Linked DNA regions of Homo sapiens: region 1 is linked to region 2. The links are contacts of gene promoters, found by promoter capture Hi-C in human tissues and cell types (Jung and others, 2019). All regions are on one chromosome and are shown on one strand. The core of a region is centred on a gene start or on the middle of the fragment in contact, and the rest is flanking DNA. Distances in the headings are between cores, read along the strand shown. Region 1 overlaps LOC105378204 (a long non-coding RNA gene). Region 2 holds the start of SPRY4 (sprouty RTK signaling antagonist 4).

The links. The method cuts DNA at HindIII sites, captures the fragments that hold promoters and counts their contacts. A contact is called where the count stands out against the background at its distance.
Region 1: a fragment that was not itself captured here is called in contact with the fragment with the promoter of SPRY4 in region 2 in 1 of the 25 tissues and cell types used here (small bowel).

What each region holds. Positions count from the first base shown.
Region 1 is chr5:142,084,614-142,090,941 of GRCh38, reverse strand. LOC105378204 (a long non-coding RNA gene) reads left to right here. Exons shown (of 3, transcript XR_944368.3): 3 at 2,147-2,278. Among named protein-coding and RNA genes, the nearest start is that of NDFIP1, 21 kb to the left of the region's middle. The HindIII fragment of the contact is 8,153 bases long and covers 1-6,328 here.
Region 2 is chr5:142,320,980-142,327,760 of GRCh38, reverse strand. SPRY4 (sprouty RTK signaling antagonist 4) reads left to right here and starts at 2,740. Exons shown (of 2, transcript NM_001127496.3): 1 at 2,740-2,917. SPRY4-AS1 (SPRY4 antisense RNA 1) reads right to left here and starts at 2,468. Exons shown (of 4, transcript NR_120664.1): 1 at 2,391-2,468. RefSeq lists enhancers at 3,274-3,333, 2,815-3,777, 3,778-4,742. The HindIII fragment of the contact is 10,639 bases long and covers 1-6,781 here.

The sequences.
Region 1 (6,328 bases), core at 1,252-3,751, 240 kb after region 2:
CATCAGTTGATGGACATTTTCATCATTTACACTTTTGCCTACTATGAATAATGCTGCTATGAACCTTCTTGTACAAGTTTTTACGTATACTATATACTTCTCTTAAAAATAACTTTATGTTTTGCATAAAATCATATACTTATCTGCAGTATCAGTCCTGTAAGCCATCTTTTCAGGATGATTAAAAAGTTTATTTGCCCACAACCTTCTTTTATTTTTTTGAGACGGAGTCTCATTCTGTCGCCCAGGCTAGATTGCAGTGGCACGATCACGGCTCACTGCAACCTCCATCTCCCGGGTTCAAGTGATTCTCCTGCCTCAGCCTCCTGAGTAGCTGGGATTACAGGCATGCGCCACCATGCCTGGCTAATTTTTTTGTACTTTTAGTAGAGATGGGGTTTCACCACGTTGGCCATGGCTGGTCTTGAACTCCTGACCTCAAGTGATCCACCCACCTCAGCCTCCCAAAATGCTGGGACTACCAGCGTGAGTCACCAAGCCAGGCCACAACCTTGTTTCTTTAAAGCCAAATGTAATTTCATTTGTGAAGGCCTTAATCCTATTAGTCTATGCTAATTTAAACCACCAAGGAGAAAACTAAATTAAGAAATTTAAGCTGGGCATGGTGGCTTACGCCTATAATCCCAGCACTTTGGGAGATTGAGGCAGGAGGATCTTTTGCGTCCAAAAGTTCGAGACCAGCCTGGGCAACATAGTGGGACCCTGTCTCTATAACAAAGAAAAAAAAAAGAAATTTAAGAATTTAGTTAAAACTGTAATCTGGGGGAATTATATCTAGGTGGGTGCTCAGAAGGACCCAATGACGATGGAAGTGATGCTCAAGCAACTCTATTCATGTCTTTCTTTATGTACTAGGGGCAACTCCATTCATTTATTTATGTACTTGAGGTTCAATTTTTAATATTAACATAAACATCTAATAGAGTTTGCCTATGAATCCTGCCATTAACAGGATTGCAACATACGTGGTTCAGTAAAATCAAAGAAGCAAAACACAGGACGAAGTTTTTTAAGGGACCCAGTCCCCCACTAGATTCTAAGTTCTTGAGAGCAAAGATTGCATCTTGTTTGTGGTGGGCACACCAGAAATATTTGTTCAACAAAAAAATAAGGAAAGCTGTGTCCAGAATCAGATTTCCTAGCCTTTGCCCCACCCACTCACTCCCACCCTATTGTTTGCTCTTTCCCCAGACCCCAGTTCCACCTAATTCCAAGGGACAAGATAGAGTCTCAGATCACAATGTATCGAAGGCAGGTGTAGTTGGAAGATGGTATTTATCTTTGTGGGGAAGGAAGGGAGTAGCATCAACAATGGAAAACCAAATGATCTTGTTCCTTCCTGTGCACCTCATTTGCCAGTTTTGGAGAGACAGCAATTTTTTTAATACCTTGAAACACTGGAGTTTGTATTGAGAAACAAAAGAAAAAAGCTCAAAGGTGGCTGTGGAGGTCTCTATCCCTCCTTCCAAGGCTCACTGACCCCTCGATGACCTGTAACTGTAGCTCTGGGAGAAACGAATAAGCAGGCGGTTCAATGCTGCTATTTTAGGCAGTTAGTCGATGTGGGCGGTTAGTCTGGTTAGTCGATGTGGGCGGCAGACACTGGGGTTGGTGTGTTGGGAGAAGGGCTTGAGGGGTGCCTGTATAAACTGGCCATAAAAATATGGGACAATAAGTTGTGGAAAGCCACAAGAGGCCTCTGAGGAGGAAAGCCTAATTGCCATCATGTTCCCATGCTCAGGGCAAGACCCGCTCTCTTATCTGTAAACACTGTGTTCAAGGAGAAAGACACTCCTTTGAAGCATTGGAATGTAGACAGACGTGCAGGCTCCTAGTTAAGCCCGCTCCCACTAGCTACTCTCCGATAAGTTAAAGATACGCAGTTTGAGCACAAAGGAGATTCATTTAAACCGCTATTGCTATAGATTATGCCTATGACGCACTGCCTCCCTTTCACTGTTTCGCACTGAACATCTGCTTCTTAGATCTAAGTGATGGTAATCAATAGTGTGTAGACCAGAGCTCTGGGCCTTTGCAGTCTCTGATTTGCTCTGGCCCCCTGGCTCCCACTTTTATGAACTCTAAACCTGTCTCTTCTCATTCCTTTGTCGCCACTGGACTTCAGGTACCCTACGGGTGGTGTTGAGGCTGGTCCCCAACATTGGTGGAAGAAGCACCTTTATGGACCAGACAGCCATGTACTCGGTCAGCCCCACTGCAGATACGCCGGAAGGAGGTCCAAAAGCCGTTTTCAGGGAGAGGACTCTTTGCCCCTTGTTAGTTAAACCTTGGCAGACATGCTGGGCAGGAATGACATACCCTATGTGTAAGTACCTGGAAAACCCCACGGTGCTCCCACACACTCAACCGGAAGCAGCATTTTCAGATCTGCTCGTGCTGGTTCTTCTGCATTAGTTGATAGTCAGTTTAGATTTCAGATGTCACTGTCCCTGAAGGGCCTCCCCTGGTGCCTCATAAAGGCCAAGAGACCACAAAAGTTGAATGGCCAAGCCAGGCTGGCACGACGCAGTGCCCTAGCTATCTCCTTTTCTGCTGCAGAAGCGCACTACCGGTGACGGGCAGTAGTGAGTGGGAGGGCCACCATCTGAAATGTGCTGCTCCTTTTGATGAGTGGGTACTGTGTTTTTCTCTGCTTTTAGCTCCTATTCTGAAGAAATGATAGTGATTTTCACCCCATCCCCGATCAAACAGGACTGTGACTTACGTTTCCCAGTGTTCATTGCTAATTTCATGCACCATTAAGTTTTGTAGTCTCCCATGTCCATTAGACCTTGCTTCTCCCTCTGGGATGTTGGGACATTGTGGGGAGCATATTGTGATATGTTGGCATGCTGGGGTGGGGGAGGCCACAGCTGACTTGGGAGAACTTGTCCCTTGGTGACACCCACCCACACTGAGCTTGAACTTCAGACAAGGGAAATTGACTCTTACTCCACTCCCCACCCTCACCCCATGGCAGCCTGGCTCACCAACCACAGCGAAGCCGGACTTGGCCTCTTGGTTCTTCTCAACACAGCTCCCCAGTCAGACACCACCAACTGAACTGAATTGGCACTATTTGGTAGTCTAGCCTGACTTATAATAACAATTGAAAAAGAAAAGATAAATCTGTCCTCCAAACTGGATTCAGTTATCACACTATTGCTCGGATCTATTGTATCACTTGGAGCCCTGCGCTTACAGTGCTATTCTGTGAATTTCTTCTAACAACAAGAGTCTATAAGGTGAGAGGGCCCCTTGTTCTTTCAAAGAGAAAGGAAATGTCTCTTAAAGCATCATTTAAACTTAAATTTTAATGTTGTTTAAGCATGGAGAAGTACAGAGAAGAAAACATTTGATGACCCACATTCTTATTGCCCAGCTCACTCCTGACTGTATTAGATAATAATTATGACATTATAATAGTTACACATGCATACGAGTAGAAATTTTAAACATGAAAGCATAACACGACAAGTGCTAACTTCTATTCCTTCCTTCCTAATGATAACAGCTATTGATTATTAATAGTTTTTCATGGGTTCTACCAGAAAAAGTACATGTATGTTTATATTCTTTTCTAAAAGTTACCAAAAAGGGGGAAAAGGGTGAAGCGTACTCTACAATATGTTCTGCAGCTTGGTTTTTTTTCTTCTAACTGAATTATACAACTGGCATTCTTTCCTGATCCACCTCATTCATTCATTCACATGGTCTTCCAGCATATGGATGTGCCATAATCCATAATATGGATGTACCATAACTTAATCAGTACTCTGTTAATGGTAAAACATCTTTTGAAGACTTCAGGGGGCTCATTGACCCACTTGAACTGTTATTCATCAACAAAGGAGGAAGGACACCTATTTCATTCATTCACTCAAAATCCTGCAGCTCTAAAGATTATTCAACTTGGTCCACAACTTCTGGCAAATACAACTACAAAGGAAAGCATCAGCAGAGCTGGGGCTGGGGTGTGGTATGAATAAAGTCATTTGCAATGCACCAGAATAAAGATCCCTTGCAATGATCACGAGCTGTAAGCACTGACAGTCCTAGAAGACTTGGTCATGTGATAGACCAGGTAGCATTGCCCGGAGTAACATGAAGGCAGCATTGCTTCACACAGAGACTTCAAACTAACAGTGTCTCCCAGAAGCCTTACAGCACTGAAAATGCTTCACTGTATTTTATTCATAATGGATATATTCACTATAGATGCTGAGTCTGCTAAGCCAGCTGTGTTTTCCTGTCACCAAGATGCCTTGATGCCATCTTAATATACACATATTTAAAAATTCTCCATGGAAGAACATCTTTACTTTGTCTAACTCTAATTGTGCCAGGGAATTGAAGTAGTCAGTTCAGATAATGCTGAAACTTATTGACTACTTGTTAGTTCTGTGTCCTGGAGCCTGTGATCTAACCATTCTAAGCCTATAAAATGAAGGTAATGATGCCTACCCCATAGGGTTGATGGGATGATTAACTAGGATAATTTATATCTACAGAGAAACATATATGGTGTGCCTCCACTTATGTAGTTAAACAGCTATCTCTGTTTATTTACAAAGAGAGATGTCTGGAAAGATGTTTATCAAAATGTTAAGCTTGGTTTTCTCTGGGTGTGAGATTTCTGAAGATTTTACTTTTTTCTTAGTTCTTTTCCATGTTGATTGGATTTGTTTGTTTTGTTTATACAATGATTAAGAGTGATTTTTACATTTTTTTAAAAAGCCGTTTTCAAAATGAGATAATGTTTATAAGGAAAATCACACATAAGTACTCAATCAACGTTGTTACTGTTAAAAGCTATCAGGAAAAGACCACTCACTCTATACCAGAAAAATCACGATTTAACTATATTTAAGACCCACCAAAGCCCAATTCTTTGGGGTTTTTTTGTTTGTTTGTTTTTAGAGACAGGATCTCACTCTGTCACTCAGGCCGTAGTGCAATGGCATGATCATGGCTCACTGTAACCTCAAACTCCTGGGCTCCACAATCCTCCCACATCAGCCTCTCAAGTAGTTAGGACTATAGGTGCATACCACCATTCACCACACCCTGCTAATTAAAAAAATTTTTTTTTTCCTAGAGACAACGTCTTGGTATATTACCCAAGCTGCTCTTGAACTCCTGGCCTCAAGTGATCCTCCTACCTCGGCTTCCCAAAGTGCTGGTATTACAGCTGTAAGCCAGCATGCCTGGCCCCAATTCTTAAGAATATGGGCTTTGGAATCAGGTAGTCCTGGCTTTGAATTACAGTTCTTAATCTTTGTTTTTCCTCCCTACATCTTTTTTTTTTTTTCTCTCAAGACGGAGTCTCGCTCTGTCACCCAGGCTGGAGGGCAGTGGCGCAAGCTCCGCTCACTGCAACCTCCGCCTCGCAGGTTCAAACGATTCTCCTGCTTCACCCTCCTGAGTACCTGGGATTATAGGCACACAACACCACGCCCAGCTAACTTTTGTATTTTTAGTGGAGATGGGGTTTCAAATGTTGGCCAGGCTGGTCTTGAACTCCTGATCTTGTGATCTGCCCTCCTTGGCCTCCCAAAGTGCTGAGATTACAGGCACGAGCCACCGCGCCCGGTGCTTTTTTTGTTTGTTTGTTTTGTTTTTGAGACAGGGTCTCACTTCGTTACCCAGGCTGGAGTACAGTGGTGTCATCTCGGCTCACTGCAACCTCTGTCCTCTGGGCTCAAGCAATCCTTGAACCTCAGCTTTCCGAGTAGCTGGGACTACAGGTGTGCCTCCACACCTGACAATTTTTTTTGTATTTTTGGTAGAGATGGGGCCTCACCATGTTGCCCAGGTTGGGTCTGAAACTCCTGAGCTCAAGCGATCTGTGCACCTCAGCCTCCCAAAGTACTGGGATTACAGGCAGGAGCCACCATGCCCAGCCACGCTACGTCTTTTTAGATGCTACACTTTGAGGAAAACACTTCACCATTTGTAGCCTTGGTTCTTCCTCTGTAAAATAAAATGCTTTTCTCCTCTATCCAATAACCCAAATCCTACACAGCCTTCAGAACTTTCAGTGTTTCCAGCTGTCCCAAACACTTGGAATTCCTAGAGTACTTGCAAGCCTGGTTACTCTTCAGGGCCCTGGATATAATAACAAAACGTAGTCATGGCCAACACAGCTAATTCTCTATGTAATATCTACTCTTCTCTTTCTCTTTACCAACAGAACTTGAATTTTATGCAGGGCAGCAATGTGCCCAGTTAAAAATACTCAGCCATGTGTGGTGGCTGCTGCCTGCAATCCCAGCTACTAGGGGGTATAAGGCAGGAGGATTGCTTA
Region 2 (6,781 bases), core at 1,491-3,990:
GAGATGTTTCTCCAGTCCTCCCTCAGATTCACTTCTCAGTCTTTGGGTCTCAACTCACAACTAGAAGCCGCCCTCTCAGAGACATTCCCTGATGACCAAATCAGAATCAGCTCCTTCCACCATCCCCCACCTCCCCGGCAAGCAACATACCCCAGAGAAAGCTCATTTCCCTCCTAGCACTTAGAACCTCATGTTGCAGCCTGTCTGTCTGTCTTTTCAAAAGACTGTGAGCTTCACAAGGGCAGGGAGGGCTGTCTGTCCCTCACCACTGAGTCTCCAGAGTCAGGGCAGGCCCCACTACAGAATCGATCAATGAATGAGTGAATGAGTGAATGAATGAATGAATGAATGAATGAATTTTTCATAACTGCTGCTCCAAACCATTCCTCAGCTTAGGTTCCAAGCACAACCAGAATATGACCTCCAGAGCCCTTCTAGACGCTCTGAATCTCGCTGTACTTAAGCATCAGAGGCCCCTCCCAGCTCAAGACTGGGAGCTCCTCCTTCTCCCCACCACAGGCTGGGGTCTCCTCGCATTCTCTTTCAGGGAAGCTGAGAAAGACTATGAAATGTAATCCTGTCTGTCTCCTGAGTTTCTCTAATAAAGAAAACAGGATAGCAACCCCCCTCCCCGCGGCTCCTCCAATCCTCCTTTTCTGCCATAGATTTAAGATTTATTTATTCCCATCCTTCTGACTGTTTCAGCAAGGGCCATGGGTGAGCACCAGCTGGAAAATTACTGCTTCAACTTTCATTGTTTAAAATGCTTAAATGACATGCGAGAAACAGGTTTTTAGGTCTGTGATGCTGAGAAGGGTTGGTAGCAAAGTAAAGCCAGGTTGCAAAGACCTAGAAAATAAGTGCTACAATTTACCAGCTCTTCCATATACCCGGTGCAGGACCCTTGGCCTCAGTTTCTACAGCTGACAGAGAGGGCGATACTGAACTTCAACAGCCTTAAAAGGAAGTCCTGGACAACTGTACCCATTTTTCTGGCGAAGAGTTCTCTTGGTCTTAGAGAAAGGTCTCGCCCCTGAAAGGAAGGCTGAGGTTCCCTAGGGGAGAGTCTGCTCTGCCCTCAGGAGCTGGGTAAGTACACGGAGGGGTGAGCCGAATGGTGAGAAGGCATTTTAGGCTAGGACTCGGTGACCTTGGGCTGCCTGCCTCTAGAGTCCCAGCCCCAGCCCTAGGCCAGACCTCAGCCCTGGGCTGGGAGCCTTTCATTGGTTCCTCTGACAACAGCCAAGCACAATCCTATAGTGGCGTAGGAAGAAAAAGACTGCCACACAATCTCCCCGTGCGGCCAGAACAGCGGCAAGACAGACCTTACAAGGGACTCAGGGCCAAGCCCTGGCCCAGACTCTGCTCTTATCCACGCATCAAAGCCACCCCCCGCCCCGGACTTCCCGGAGGCTACAGGCTCCTCCGTTCCAGGGAGGAGCAGGGCCTGCTGCGAGGGCTCCCCGCCTTCCTGGAGTCAGGCCTAATGGCGGGGGCTTTTCTTTTCACCGGCTTGAGCTGATCCTCACCCCCGCCCCCCAACGCCACCATCATTAACAGCGAAGAAAGGATCCCCAGCCATTTCCATTTCCTCTGCGGCTCAAGAGCCCCGTTGTTATTTAATCCTGAGGCCACCCCGGCAGCATCCTCGGCGCAGCCGGCTCCACCCATCCACCTGGCCAGTTCTCGGCCGCTCCCACTTCCCCGGAGGGGAGGCCGGTGAGAGGTGGGGGATATTGGGGAAAGGCGCCTACAACAGCGAAGGGCCGTGGGCCTTCGGTGGACCGAGGCTCCTCAGGCCAGCGTCCTGTGAGGGCTGGGAAACCGACTGGGACAGAGAAAGGACACCTAGCTAGGGCGACAGAGAGCGGGCAGACGCCCGGGCACTGCGGACATTGCACTGGGGCGGGGGGCGGGGGGAACGCTGGGAGGCGAGGGCCAGGCTTCCTCTGGCTGAGTTGCCAGAATCGCCCCGGGGGGTACTGGAGCCGGAAGAGGCCTGGGCCCAGTCACTGTCTACACCCAAGAAATGGGGGGAGGGGCGGCCAGCACTCACGAGAGATTCAGCCTCAGGAAAAAGAACCAGATTCACTCACCAATCCTCACCCCACCCTTTGATATGAATGATGGACATTTTCCTAATTTTTGGTAAACGCAGCTTCAAGACCCCTCCCGCCTGGCGTCTCTGGTCTAGAGCAAGAGAAGGCCCCCAGTAGGGGTCCTCCCGCCCCCCCTTTTGACTGCCTGCGGGGGGCAGAGATCCCCAGATCTAGGTGTGCCCTCCACCACCCTGCTCTCAACCCGGGATCCGGAGGCCGCAGCGTCCCCCACCCCCCAGCGACACTGACGGTTCCTGCCCAGGCCCGCAGTGGCGTGAAGGTGGCCTTTACCTCCTCTCGCAGGCTGGGAGGGGGTGCAGCCCGCGCAGCTGGCCCAGCTGCAGCAGTCGCCGCCGCCCTCCATTCATTAAAAAAAAAAAAAAAAAGGCAACAACAGCCTCCACTGGAACCTCCACCCCTCTTTGTAAAAGAACGACGGCTCCTGGTGGAGCTTGAGCCAGTCCCAGCAATCACGGGTTAAGATCTTTTCCCGCCCCCCATTCATAAAAAAAGGAGCGGAGCGCATGCGCGCTCAGGGTCTGTTGTGCCCACCCATTCATAGAATCGCGAACGGCACGCGTGCGCACTGGCGCTCCCTTCCCTCCCATTCATAAAAAAGCCATTTTCCCAGGCAGTGGTTGCAACATCGCCGCGGAGGTAGCGAGCTGAGCTGACAGCGCGGAGCTGGCGCTGTGGAGCGCAGGGAGCCTTGCCGGTTCCTCCGACCGGCGTCTGCGAGTACAGCGGCGGCTAACCTGCCCCGGCTTCAGGATTTACACAGACGTGGGGCGATGCTTGTGACCCTGCAGCTCCTCAAAGTAAGTCCATGGCTGGTTTGGAGATCTGAAACTGCCCCTCTCTGAGCCGCGACGCGACTCCCCCCTTGGGCTGGGGCAAATGGTGCGCTATTTCTAGGCGCGCCTCAGTGTTCCTTCCCTCAGCCTGCGCCTCCTTGAGTCGCTGCGGTGCGCCGCAGCTCCCTGACGCCCTCGGCCCGGCCGGCACGGCGCCGGGGGTGTTCACAGCCTGGCACCGCCGTTTCCGACCCCTGGGCATTGCCAAGCCCGGCTTCCCCGCCCTCTGAGACTCGGGAAGCCCCGTGCGTGTCCCGGGAGTTTGCCTCTGGCCTGGCCTCTTTCCTTCTCCTGCCACCATCCGCCTCGAACGCTGGAACGGGCGTCTCTGGGCTTGGTCAGGAGCCACCGTTTGGGTCGGGGGGCGCCCTCGCTCTGGGCGGCTCGCCCACCTCCCAGCTCGGTGCCCACGGTGCCAGCTTTGCCGTGTATCTCCCAGCCCGCCGTAGCGGCCTATGCTCGACGTAGATTTTTTCTTTCTCTTCGGAGCCGTGACGGACTGAATTCCCTCCCCTTCTGCCTCTCCCTCGATGGTCAGCGAGGGGCTGGCTCAGGACTGGGCATTCCTACTCCCTCTCCTTGGCGAGGCGGTTCCTCGCCGTCTGACCTTTGCTCCGCTGCCGCATTTTATGCTATGCAACTGCCTTGCAGTTGACTTTTTCTTGCCTGGCCTCTGTAAGGCCTGAGGCTCCTCGGCCACCCTGTACCTCCCTATCCTCGGGCACCGAGCTGTGCCAGGCCCCGGAGCCCCCAGGCCGCGCTAGGGCTGCGGTGGGGGTTGAAGGTGCGTTTACATAACACCAGGCGTGTGGGAGCTGGAGGAAGAGGTTGCGAATGTAGGAGAGATAAGGCTCCTGCTTTCCCTCCTTCCTTCTTGGTGGTACCAGGCTTGACATCACAGAGAAGAGGATAGAGACGGTATGTTCTGACAAATTCTGAATCGCCAAGACCCCGGGGACAGTGAGCTGGGTGAGGGCGGGTTTGGCTAGCCAGGGCAGCTAGAGCTTGGCTCCATCACTGGGTCCAGGGCTGTGCCCAGTTCCCCCTCCATGCAGACGATCAAAAAGCATTTAGACAGTAGCTGCTCTTGTGCAAGAAGACGGTTTCTCAATTCTCCTTGATTGGGGGCAGGGGGTTGTGGGCAGGAGAGGCAGGGGAGACAGAAAATGGTTGCGTGGCTTATAGGGCTGAAGGATGGGCAAGAGAGGCGAAATGGGCTGGAGGGGCTAGATGGTAGGCAGAGTAGGGAGCTGCTGGCTGCCTCTTTCACCAGCTGCTGGAGGGGCATCCATATTGCCAAGGCCTCTGTGAGGGCAGGAGGCCGCCTTCTGGCGCAGCAAGGCTTCCGTACCCCCCAGCGCGGTTAGTGCTGGAAAGAAGAGTGTACAGTGGGGTGCCCAAACCTAGTGGCATCCCCTTCTTTCCTGCCTCCAAATCAGTGGCGTGATTCTCTCCAGTTTTGGGAGAGGCCAGACACACTGGAGGCCAAAGAACTTGCAGAGGGGCGGGAGCAAGCACTCGTCTGTGTCTGTAGCTGACCGAGGCACTAACCTCCCTGACAAGTCTCTCGGGATTCAAAGCTGGAAGGTATAAGGCTCAGAGAAGTTGGGAACTGCGGGTTTATCAATCTCTTAATGAGCTCAGTCTGGCCTGAGGCCCTACCCAATATTGCACTGGTGGATTTCACAATGTTTGGAGTTCTCCAGATCTTCACACAAATGGAGCATAAACATCTCTGAAATTTTCAGCCTTTTTTTTTTTTTTTTTAGGGCGGGTGTCAGGAGAGCTAGGAGAGGCAGGGCTGCAGTTAAAGATTTCTCTTTCTCTCTCCCTCTCTGTCTCCCAGAAGGGTGGGAAAGAACTAGTGGAGATGTCCAGTGTGAAATCACATTTCCTCTTTCCCATCTCTTGGGAGGGTTCTCACGTGCTGCGAGGCTCCAGCAAATCCTAATGTGGTGAACAGCACACACACTTACCAACCACGCCATGTGGCCAGTACGGGTGTAGGGTGGGGATTTTAGTAGCAGATTTCTGAAATCTTCATGGACAAATATTGGTCAGTTACAGTGAGCAGACTTTAAAGGCATCTGTTGGTTATCAGGAGTCACTCCCTTTCAGTGGAGTGTAAATGCCCTCTTGCCCTTAGCCCTCCTGCCCAGCTCCATGACCTTTTCCAGATCACCCTCTGAAATGGCCTCATCTCACTGAAGCTTTAGTTGGGGGCTGGTGGGAGGAGACAGAACACATAGTAGGGCAGAGGCTGTGGACAGGTGGACATTTGGAGCTTACGGATGTCGTTTTCATTTATATATATATATATATATTTTTTTTTTTTCTTGAGACGAGTCTTGCTCTGTGACCCAGGCTGGAGTGCAGTTGCGCGATCTTGGCTCACTGCAACCTCCGCCTCCCAGGTTCAAATGATGCTCCTGCCTCAGCCTCCCAAGTAGCTGGAATTACAGGTGTGTGCCACCACACCCAGCTAATTTTTGTATTTTTAGTAGAGACAGGGTTTCACCATGTTGGCTAGGCTGGTCTCGAACTCCTAAGCTCATGATCCGCCGGCCTCTGCCTCCCCTGGGATTACAGGCGTGAGCCACCACGCCCGGCCTCATATGTCATTTTTATCTGCATCCTCCCAGAATTGGCGGAGAGATGTGGCTCTTTGGAAATCTGTCCTGCCCAGTTCGCACCCACCCATGACCCCAGCCCCAACTTTGGTAAACCAGAGGTTTGGCTGACTTTCGTGAATAATAAATGAAAGCAGCCTTTCAGTGCCAAATTTGAAAATCAGTGATATAAAAGTTAAGAGAGGAATAAAACCCATTAATACTTACAGAAGTGACCCTTGAGCTGTGTTGCTCTGGGATTTAATACTTTGGGACCATATGTGGGGATTCCAGTTTACAGGGCTGAATGTCTTGTTGTTTGACATCTTCTAGCTCCAAGATTTGTGCCCCCACAGTGTGTTTTTCTGTCCTTGGGCTATCCTGTTGATGAGGGCCTGGGTGTTGGTGCAAAGGAGGCCTAGGAAGGAGCCCTCCCTCTTTATTCAGAAAAGTCCAGTGTTTCTTGGAGAATCATAGTGTTCCATTTGGTTCTAAATCCACAGTGTTTGTCATCTGGCCTCTACTTAGGTGGCAGTTCCCTTGTGATGACAACCTGGCTAAGGATTCTCGCCCAGGCCTCTGAATTTGGAGACAAAGTTGAAAATTTGGGGTTTTGAATGTAGACATGACAGAGTTTTTAAGGAAGGGAAATGGCTAGAGTGGAGAAGGTTCTATCTCAGGGCCGACCTTATCTCCCTGAAAGGAGAAAGCAGTGACTCATTAGAATATGTTTTTGCTCTTTCAAAAGAGCCAGGGGTAGGTGAACAACTTTCAGAAAGCTGTATTGTCCCTTCCAGACCAAGCCAGGGGCTAGAACAGAGCAGATGTGTGACTAGGCAAACCTGCTAAGCATGGCCTTAGCTTCCCCATCTGCACAGTAGAGAAAATAAACTCTTCCCAAGGGGACAGAGGCCAGCAGAGCTGCTAGTGAGCGGCCAGGACTAGGGCCATGCTCATGGTTATTATTGGGCTCCTAGGAGGAGGGCCTAGTTTTAAGGGTGCCCCTTTCCTGCACAGGAGGTGTGGGGTGTTGCGTGATGTAAGAGGGAGGGTATTCTTGGCTCTCGGGGTCTGGGGCCACCCTGCAGATCCGGACAGCTGACAAGGCTGGGGAATGTATCCGGGACATGTGGCTGGGCTTAAGAGGCTCCACAGTTCAGCTGTGATCATGATTGTTCTTTCCAAGGACAGGCCCCAGTCAGTGAAGGAAGCAAGGGCA